Regions from separate parts of the Homo sapiens genome. Here region 1 is linked to region 2. The links are contacts of gene promoters, found by promoter capture Hi-C in human tissues and cell types (Jung and others, 2019). All regions are on one chromosome and are shown on one strand. Each heading gives the region's core, a stretch centred on a gene start or on the middle of the fragment in contact. The rest is flanking DNA. Distances are from core to core; before and after follow the strand shown. Region 1 overlaps MROH9 (maestro heat like repeat family member 9). Region 2 holds the start of FMO1 (flavin containing dimethylaniline monoxygenase 1).

Region 1 (5,788 bases), core at 2,537-5,036, 270 kb after region 2:
TCACCAGGCAGGGAACTCCTAGCTTGGGCCCACAGCACAGACCTTCAATCCTGGGTTGATTGCACTGAGCAATTGCTGACCTGCATCTCTCTGGTGTGGAGCCTCCAGAAGACAAGTAAAAGATCCTTGGCCACACTCACTGCTGAGGTCCCTTTCTCTGCTGCCTCCGAGTTGGGGAGGAAACATAAACCTTGAAATCAACCCAGAGTTGTGGTAGGCATCCTGGAAGTGCCAAGCCATGATCTATAGCCAACACTTAAGTGGGAAAGGAGCCCATGCTTTCGGGGCACTGAGAAGAAGCACAGCTGCTACTGTAAGGAAATATAGGGGAGCCACAACTGAGCAAGAGTCTACCAACTGATCACTGTGCCTAAGTGCCATTGACCAGACCAGATCACACCCTAAAGCTTCAACAACAAAATATCTCACTAACATACCCTACCATGAAACCAAAGATGAGAAGTCAGATACAAATACAGACCCTGTACAAGGCTCAGTCCTGTGAAGACATCCAGAAAGGAAGTCTACTGACTATACTCAATCTCCACTGCAGTTAAAGGGATACCCTCATGCCGAACTGAGAAAGAATGAGTAACTCAAATAGCTAGAGTGTCTTGTGTCCTCCAGATGGCTGAAATAGTTCTCCAACAAGGGTTCTTAACCAGGTTGGATTGACTGAAATGACAGAAATATAATTCAGAATATGGCTAGGAATGAAGATCATTGAGATTCAGGAGAATAGCAAAACCCAGTCCAAGGAAACTAAGACTCACAATAAAATGATACAGGAGCTGACTGATGAAATAGCCAGTATAAAAAAACCTAACTGGCCTGATAGAGCTGAAAAACACACTACAAGAATTTCAAAATGCAAATGCAAGTATTAACAGCAGAATAGATGAAGCTGAGGAAAAAAATCTTGAAACTTGAAGACTGGCTCTCTGAATTAAGGCAGTCAGAAAAAAAAGAAAAAAAAGAAACCAGAATGTAAAGGAAAGAACAAAACCTCCAAGAAATACAAGATTATATAAAGAGGCCAATTCTATGTGTTATTGGCATCCCTGCAATAGATGGAGAGAAAGCCAACAACTTGGAAACATTTCAGGATATCATCCATGAAAACTTCCCCAACCTTGCTAGACAGGTCAACAGTCAAATTCAGGAAATACAGACAACCTCTGCACAATTCTACATCCCCAAGACACATAATCATCAGATTCTCCAAGGTCAAAATAAAAAAAGAAAATATGTTATCATTTTTTTATATGCCTCAGCCTCCTGAGTAGCTGGGATTACAGGCACACACCACCATGCCCAGCTAATTTTTGTATTTTTATTAGAGACGAGGTTTCACCATGTTGGCCAGGCTGGTTTCAAACTCCTGGCCTCAATTGATCTACCCACCTCAGCTTCCCAAAGTCCTGGGATTACAGGTATGAGCCACCATGCCTGGCTTCAACATTCTTAAAAAAAAATAAATTCCAACCAAGAATTTCATATCTGGCTCAACTAAGCTTCCTAAGTGAAGGAGAAATAAGACCCTTTTTAGACAAGCAAATGCTGAAGAAATTCATTACCACTGATCTGCCTGATAAGAGCTCCTGAAAAGGGCACTAAATATGGAAAGGAAAGACCAGTACCAGTCACAGCAAAAATACACTGAAGTACACAGACCAGTAATACTGTAAAGCAATCACACGAACAAGTCTGCGTAATTAATCAGCTAACATCATGACAGGATCAAATCCATAAATAACACAAACCTTGAAGGTAAATGGGCTAAATGCTCCAATTAAAAGGCACAGAGTGGCAAGCTTAATAAAAAACAAAGACCCAATGGTATGCTGTCTTCAAGAGACCCATCTCACATGTAATGACACTTACAGGCTCAAAATAAAGAAATGGAGAAAAACCTACCAAGCAAATGGAAAACAGAAAAAGGCTGGGGTTGCAAACCTAATCTCAGGCAAAATAGACTTTAAGCCGACAAAGATCAAAAAAGACAAAAAAGGGCATTTACATAAATGATGAAGGATTCAATTCAATGGGAAGACTTAACCATCCTAAATAAATATGCACCCAACACAGGAGCACCCAGATTCATACAGCAAGTTCTTAGAGTTCTTCAAAGAAACTTAGACTCCCACACAATAATAGTGAGAGATTTCAGCATCCCACACAATAATAGTGGGAGTCTTCAACATCCCACTGGCAGTATTAGATCATTGAGGCAAAAAAGGTCATTTTCTTAAGTGAAATAACTCAAAACAGAAAGTCAAATACCACAGGTTCTCACTACATAATGTGTACACATGGGCATACAGAGCAGATTAATAGACATTAGAGACTCATAAAAGTGGGAAGGTGAAAGGGGAGTGAGGGATGAGAAAGGACCTAATGGGTAACATGTACACTATTTAGGTGATGCTTACTACTGAATATATCCATGCAACAAATCAGCATTTGTACCCCCTAAATCTATTCAAAAAAGAATTGTTATGTCTCCTTAATTAATCGATCCCTTTATCATTATGAAATGACTTTCTTTTCCCTGGAGGCATTCTTATCTCTAAAATATATCTTTTTATAATAATAGAATATAGCCACTCCAATTTTCTTTTTATTATTGTTAACATGTTATATCATTGTCTAACTTTTAACATTTAATTCATGTATGTTTTATATTTAAAGTGAGTTTCTTGTAGGCAGCATATAGTTGAGGCTTGCTTTTTATTCAGTCTGACAATCTGCCTTTTTACTTGGGGTATTTAGAATATTTACATTTATTATGATTGGGTTAAAAATTTGTCTTGATTATTTGTTTCCTATTTTGTGTTATCTGCTTTTTTTCTATTCTTTTTTGCCTCATTTTAAATTATTTTCTATGATTCCATTTTAGCTCCATTTTGGCTTAATATATATAACTTTTTGCTATATTATCTTAATGGTGGCTTTAGGGTTTAGATGATACATCCTTAACTTATTAGTTTACTTTCAAGTGTTATTTTATAACTTTGTGCATAGGAGAAGAATTTTAAAACACATTTATACATTTTTCCCTTTAAGTTTTTGTGTTGTTTTTATATATTTTACTTTTGTTATTATCTTTAAAGAGTTGATTATCATTTAAAGAGATTTAAATAAGAAAGATAAATGAATATTTATCTATATTGCTGAAGTTTTCCAGTGCTCTTCATTCCTTTTTGTAGATCTAGATTTTCGTCTGGTATAATTTCCTTTTCTAAAAGAATTTTCTTTAACATTTCTTGCAGTTAAAGATCTTATGGTAATTAATTCTACCAACTCTTGTATATCTAAAATGTCTTTATTTTACTTTTTATTTTGAAAGATATTTCTACTGGTTTAAGGATTCTAGATTGACTTTTTTTTTCTTTTCTGTATTTTATGATGTTCCTTCATTGCCTATAACTTGTGTCATTTCTGGTGAGAAATCTGCTGTCACCCTTATCTTTGTTTCTCTATATGTAATGTCCTTTTTCCTCTTTGGCTCCTTTTAAGATTTTTTTCTTTATCACTTGTTGTAAGCAATTTAATTATGATGTGCCTTGATGTTCTTTTCTTCACATTTCTTGTTCTCTGCTGAGCTTTTCAGTGTGTGAGTTTATAGCTTTTATTACATTTGAAAATTTTTCAGTCATTATTCTTTAATTTGTTTTTCTGTCCTCACTTTCTCACTTTCAGAGACTCAAATAAAATATGTATTAGGCTCTTCAGAGACTCATATTAGACATGCCTGATAGCTCACTGATGCTCTATTTGTCTGTCATTTATTTCTCTGTTTAAATTTTGATAATTACTATTACTATGTCTGCAAGCTCATTAATCTTTTCTTCTGCAAAGTTTTTGTTAATCCATGCCAGAGAATTTTTCTTCTCAGATATTGTAATTTTTACCTCCAGAGGTTCAATATAAGTCTTTTAGGAGTTTTTCTGTCTCTACTTAAGATGTTTTTATCTTCTAATTCCTTTAATAAGTGGAATGTAGTTATAATAATTCTTTTAATGTCACACTCTACTCATTCTATCATCTGTGCCATTTCTCTATCGCCCAGGCTGGAGTACAGTGGCACGATACCAGCTCACTGCAACCTCTGCCTCCCAGGTTCAAGCAATTCTCCTGTCTCAGCCTCCTGAGTAGCTGCGATTACAGGCACGCACCACCATGCTCAGCTAATTTTGTATTTTTAGTAGAGACGGGGATTCACCATTTTAGCCAGGCTAATCACGAACTCTTGACCTCAGGTGATCTGCCCGCCTCGGCCTCCAAAAGTGCTGGGATTACAGGCATGAGCCACCGTGCCCAACCTAATAATTTTTTTTAAATTGGATTTCAGACATTGTTAATTTTAACTTGTTGAGTGCAGGAACTTTTTTTTTTATTTCTAGGGGTATTCTTCAGCTTTGTTTTGGTAGGTAATTAAAATATTTGGAGATAGTGATACTTTTAGATCTTGTTTTAAGGCCTTTTTAAGTAGCACTAAAACAGTTTAGGATGATTTTTTTTCTCCTAATGAGACAAAACCCGTCTGAGTACTGTACCTCGGTACTTGTGAATTATAAGGTTTTAAATTCTGGCTTACAGGCACAGGCATTATCACTAGCCTTTGTTGAGCACTGAATCTTTTTCTCTAATCATTTTTGTTGTTTCCTACCCTTCAAACTCAGGCAGTTTACTTGCATGCATGTTCTCATTAGTACTCAGCTAAATACTTAAAGGGGGCTCTCTTTAGATCTCTGCAGATCTCGAGTTTGTGGGTTTGTGCGTGCGTGTGTGTGTGTGTGTATGCGTGTGCATGCACTCATGTACTCCGTTCTGGTACCCTGGCCTTTCAACCCTAGCTATTGACCTCTCTGGACTCCCATTTCTGTCTTTTTAACTTGATGAGACCACTGGCTTATCTCTTTTTGTGTTGGCTCTTAGAAATGTACTCTAGGTGGTAAGCTCAGGCAATTACAAACCCCACCTCATTCGTTCTCACCTCCTCATCTTTCAAGAGTCATTGTCCTTTATTATTTAATGTGCAATGAATTGAAAACTCTGTGTGTGTGTGTGTGTGTGTGTGTGTGTGTATTTTTTTTTTTTTTTTTGAGGCGGAGTCTTGCTCTGTCACCCACGCTGGAGTGCAGTGGCATGATCTCGGCTCACTGTAAGCTCTGCCTCCTGGGTTCACGCCATTCTCCTACCTCAGCCTCCTGAGTAGCTGGGATTACAGGTGCCTGCCACCACACCCGGCTTATTTTTTTGTATTTTTTAGTAGAGAGGGGGTTTCACTGTGTTAGCCAGGATGGTCTCGATCTCCTGACCTTGTGATCCGCCCACCTCAGCCTCCCAAAGTGCTGGGATTATAGGCGTGAGCCACTGTGCCTTGCCAAAAACTATGTATATTTTTAAGGTTGCTTACTATAGGAGTGTAAATAGAGTAAATGTGTTCTCTGTTATTACATCCTGGACAGAAACAGAGGCATAGCCTCCATAGACAGAGGCTCCACCCCTTACAAATATACAAATATTCTTAAGCTTTGTTCTAAAATGCAATTAAATTACTTGGAAATAGCTTAATACTTTCAGGTCTTGCTTTTATGCTTTGTTAGACAAGCCACAGCAACATTTATTTTAATCCTAGTCTTATTTTTCTCCACCATTGAAGCAAGAATCTTCTGAGTAGTCTATCAGATACTCAATTAGACAGAAAAAAATACCGCATTTTTAAAGTCCCATTGGTAAACTCTCTCCTTCTCTGTCCTCCCTGGATCCACCCAGCATTCCT
Region 2 (5,106 bases), core at 1,053-3,552:
AAATAAGAGATAAAAATAAGAAAATAGGACTAAATTAGGAAGGTAGATGCCAATGGGTGAAAATTGAGTGAAAAAAACAAGTAAAATAACTTAAGCAACATAAAATTACTAAATGAGTTGGGAAATCGCTATTGGTTGTATAAAAGTGACTGATTTTTAACTACAGGGTTAGAAACTACTATGCTTTTTTGTGAATTTTATACTGCTTCCTCTTCTTGAAAGTTGTAAAATGCAAATATATAATTTACTGAAGTCAGATTGAGTGTCCGCTTTGGTTTAGTAGGACAGTAGATCATGAGAGGTCAAAACATGAGGTGACGCCTGTCATTACCAAACTGCAGCGGCACTCTGAGCTATTTTAAAATTTTGAAGAAGCACAGTGATTCTTGATGTCAGTTGAACACTATGCTAAGTATTAGCTGAAAGTAGTTAACAGTTTTAATATTGTAAAAGACTGTGTTCCATTTGCTGACATCATATCTTTGCAAAGCTGGGTGTTTGACAATTGCTATGACAAAAAGCAAGTATTGCATGAAAACTGAGGTAGAATAGAAATGAAGGGTTCATGTCTGATCTGATTCCAAGGTTTGAGAAGTTGTGCAGTGCTCAGCAGGCACATAAACCTTATTATTAAGTAATTGGGATTAAGAATGAAATAAAAATATTATTTTTCTTTTAGTTTGTATATTACTTGTTCAAAAAACTACAAAGTTGTTAGAACATAAATAGTTATTAAGTTTTTGTCTACTTAATAGGAGAAACTATGGTCTGGGGGCACCTTGAAGAAATTGCACACCAAGGGCTCCTTGAACCTAGAAAGTTGAAAACTTCTGGGCAAGAGTTTTATTTTCCGAGTTTATTTTATTGACCCGGAGATTTTATTTGTTGATGTCAAGAAAATGCATATTATACTATATTTGAGGCTAGCATTGTATCAATTAGCCAATGTTTAACTGTTTCCAGTGTGACTCACCTATGCATTTACTAGGAAGCCATTGGCACTGTCAGATTTGTATCCAGCCCTCTATTTATGCATTCCCCATCTTCTCCTCCTTCCCTACTCCCTCTGTCTCTCTCTCTCACACACACACATACACACACACACACACTCCTACACCTTAGTGCATGAAAATACTTCAGAATACTGGTTGGCACAGACTGCACAATGATACCCTATCCTCAAGTGGGTTGTGACATTTCAGGAGTAATCAGAGAGAGATTCAGCTGGATGGCAGTTGGGGTGGGTGAAGGTGCCTACTTAGCCCCTGGGAACAAAGGAGCACAGCTGGTAAGAAACTTGGGTCCAAGGAGGGCCATACTCTGGGATTTCTGTCCTCTAGCAGCAGCTCCTCATTTACTCAAATGTTCCTAACCACAACAAGCAAATAAAAATTCTCCCAGGCTTTAGGTCCTCTGTGCCAGTTACAAGGCCATAGCAGATTCCCTAGGATGCAGGGGAAACTCTAATAACCAAGGACTCAGTTTCTCCATCTGCAGAACAGATGGCATAGACCTGAATATCTAAAAATGATTTTCAAACCCTTGATGTTTATGATCTTGTGAATTTAACTGGAGCAGGATTAGTAAAAAAGATGTGCCAATCACATGGAAATCAATAAATTTTGACATAATACATAGAATGAAGCACGAAACACTTTTAACAACAGAAAAAAAGATGACATGACAGAACAGATTAGTCAAATTCTAAAGGGGCTTGCCTTTTGCTTCCCACTTGTGCCAAATGCCAACATTTGGTAGTCACCCTTCAAAAACTATGATCTCAGACAATGTTAGAAGCTGCTGATGGAAGCACTAAAAAAAAAAAGAGACTTTTCCTCTTGCATTAGAAATCCAAGTTTTTCCCATTTGATTCAACCACTTAATAATCTACCCAACAGTATACTTACCTGTGTACATGGAAGACAGGTAAGTATACTGCTGGGTAGATTATTAAGTGGTTGAATCAATGATATTGTCCCATTATAAGTATCCAAACATTTACTACTCCTATACTTTGGGCCAAGGAGTAGCTTTATAGCTCCTCCAGGGTTGGACAGAGAAAGCTGCTTTCTGATAAGGTGGTTCTTCCCTGGAGCACAATAACAAAACAGGAAAACTCCAGACCCCACTTTCCTCATCCAAAGAAATCAGAGATTATATCTGGTTACTTACTTTACGTACTTGTAATTTCTGGTGCCAATGGCTCTGCCACGCAGGACTCTGGTATTAGCAGAGATCAAAATGAATCAGTATGAGCCAGTGCTGGCTTGGGAGTCCCCAGCACAGTGGATAAACCTGGTCTAAGAGATAAGGAATGTTAAATTTGAAACCCAAGGTTAGCCGTTGTTTATATTTTAACTTGTTGATTAATGCAACAGCGAAATGCTAGGAGAAACACTGTCTGGTGATATGTACTTTAGACTCACTCTTCTGCTTACAGACTATAAACTAAGTTAGGGAGTTACACCAGCATCCTCACTTGTTCATCAGTTTTATTCTTTAAGGGGATGAGAATAAAATAAGACAATTATGTTAACAGTTACTACACCACAGATTCACTTTTAAGGGCTTTGATCCATTTCACCTTTAGGGACAATTATTATTTTTAAAAAATCATATATTACTCACATTAGTAAACTCAATTTGTAAAGGCTTTTTAAGTGCAGCTGATTGCCCAAGCACTTGGGAAATAAAAGACAGGTATATGGGAGGAGTCTGATCTTGGGAATCACAAGTCCTGGGTTCGAGTATTGCGTTCACCAGCTATTATCAGAGTCATGTTGGAAAAATTGTATAACTTTTCTCAGCTTTAGTTTCCTCAATTTAAAATAGGCATGATCGAGTGGCTGCCAGGGGCTGGGGAAAGAAGGGAATGGGGAAGGATTGCTAATGAGTATGGAGTTTTCTTTTGGGTGTGATGAAAGTGTTTTGAAACTGGATAGAGGTTGTGGTTACACAGCATTATGAATGTACTAAATGCCACTGAATTCTATACTTTGAAATGGTTAACGACAGATTGTTGGAAAATGGTGGATAGGAGGCAGGACTAACTTGCAGTTTCCACGCAGACAGACAGAACAGCATGTGGAGACTCACACAGTGAAATTTTCCTCCAAGAAGTACTGCATGAACATACCAGGAAAACCAAAAGAATTCACAGGACCTTTGAAAGAAGTGGCTTGCCGCTGCAAACTCCATGAGACAGCTGAAAAACTGTGAGTGCCCAAAGTGTGAGTGGGGGAAAAAATCTGCCTCCAAACACGCAAACCCACTAGGGAACCTAAAAATCCAGATCACAGGAGAAGGATTTAACCTTACCTAGAGCTGGGATGAATTTAGAGAGCAAAACGAAATATAAAAGTAGAAGCAGTGGGAAGAGCCCTGTAGGTACTCTTGGTGCCCAGGGAAGTCATTTCTGACTTTATCTCACAGGGGTCCTTGAGGAGGGCTGCCAGTGAAATTGAGGAAGGACCACAGGGAGAAGGAAACTTCCAGCTGAACTTTGTAATAGTTTTGACTATTAGCCTGAGAAACACGAATACTTATCCAGGAGACCTTAGGGCAATCTTGCATTCTCCCTATACTACCGCAGCTGATGCTGTCTTGAAAATGAGGAAAAGGAGTCATTATACAAAAAAGATACTTGAACACACTTGTTTATAGCAGCACAATTTGCAATTGCAAAAAATGAAACCAGCCAAAATGCCCATCAATCAATGAGTGGATAAATAATTCGTGGTATATACATACCATGGAATACTACTCAGCCATAAAAAGGGATGAAATAATGGCATTCACAGCAACCTGGATGGAGTTGCAGACCATTATCCTAAGTGAAGTAACTTGGGAGTGGAAAACTGAACATTCTATGTTCTCACTCATAAGTTGGAGCTAGGCTATGAGAATACAAAGGCATAAAAATGATACAATGGACTTTGGGGACTTGGGGGTAAGTGTTGGAGTGGGGGGTGATGCATAAAAGACTACACATTGGGTATAGTGTACACTGCTCAGATGATGGGTGCACCAAAACCCACAAATCACCATTAAAGAACTTATCCAGGTAACAAAACACCACCTGCTCCCCCAAAAGCTATTGAAATAAATAAAATAAAAAATTCTAAAAAATAAATAAAACAGGCATAATAACATCTGCATCAGATAGTTGTGGTGGGGATTAGATGAGATAATCTATGTCAAGAGATTTGTGTATATATAGTAAATACTGTGTATGATTGTAATGATGATAATGATGATGATGATGATGCTGTCATTGTTGGACCAGATAAGGTGTCTTGATTGCTGGTTCATAACACTGAAATGACTCCCACAGGTACAGAGAATAAATTCCATGAGAGGTTGGTGGACTGAAGCAGAGAGAAATTTCTGAAAGAATATGTCTTTTTCCTTGATTTTCAACATGGTATAACCCTTTGACCTGGAGGTCCTGTGTATCACTGAGTATACTGCTTGCTCATTGGGCTCACCTTTTGCCTCATTTCTGGCTTATTAAGTATTCAGCACAGAGACAGCATTGTTAGCTCTGTGAAATTCAGCTGCTTTGCTGCAGCTATGAAAATAATAATATTTGGATGATTTCAAGCTTAATTATACCCAGAGAGTAAGCCTTTAAAATGACTATTAGTTCAAGTATGTTTTCAAAAATCAGAATATGTTTGATTTGTAATTTACCTTGGTGTGCAGCATATACACATCAAGGTAAGTATGTAAGTACTGGGATTTGGTACACTAATGGTGGGACTTAACTTGTCCCTGGGCCTTACCAGGCATGCTGCTAACATAAGGAGAATCACAGGACTTTAAACTGTTGGTTGAGAATAAGATGATGATTTTATTATATCATCTCATTTTCCATAATCAGCAAGAGACTTGTAGTAATTAAAAATGAGAAGACCGGCCTTCGGTGGCAACTTCAGTTTCTGCTATTTTTAGGGATTTTTGTTAGTCAGTTATACTCTAGGCCATGGGATAAGGAAGGATATGTAGTCCCCTTATTCGAGTGGACCTAGACCCTAAGAAGCTGAATTGGTAGACAATAATGCTCTTTAGGAAATATTCTGGACCTCCTACCTTCAGGGAAGATGA

Evidence for each region. The method cuts DNA at HindIII sites, captures the fragments that hold promoters and counts their contacts. A contact is called where the count stands out against the background at its distance.
Region 1: a contact is called between a fragment that was not itself captured here and the fragment with the promoter of FMO1 in region 2, in 3 of the 25 tissues and cell types used here (adrenal gland, bladder and mesendoderm cells).

What each region holds. Positions count from the first base shown.
Region 1 is chr1:170,972,132-170,977,919 of GRCh38, reverse strand. The region is part of intron 8 of MROH9 (maestro heat like repeat family member 9); the gene reads right to left. Among named protein-coding and RNA genes, the nearest start is that of MROH9, 39 kb to the right of the region's middle. The HindIII fragment of the contact is 4,244 bases long and covers 1,665-5,788 here.
Region 2 is chr1:171,245,690-171,250,795 of GRCh38, reverse strand. FMO1 (flavin containing dimethylaniline monoxygenase 1) reads right to left here and starts at 2,302. Exons shown (of 9, transcript NM_001282693.2): 1 at 2,173-2,302. It overlaps FMO1-AS1 (FMO1 antisense RNA 1), which reads left to right. Exons shown (of 5, transcript XR_922278.4): 2 at 3,069-3,215. The HindIII fragment of the contact is 7,695 bases long and covers 1-5,106 here.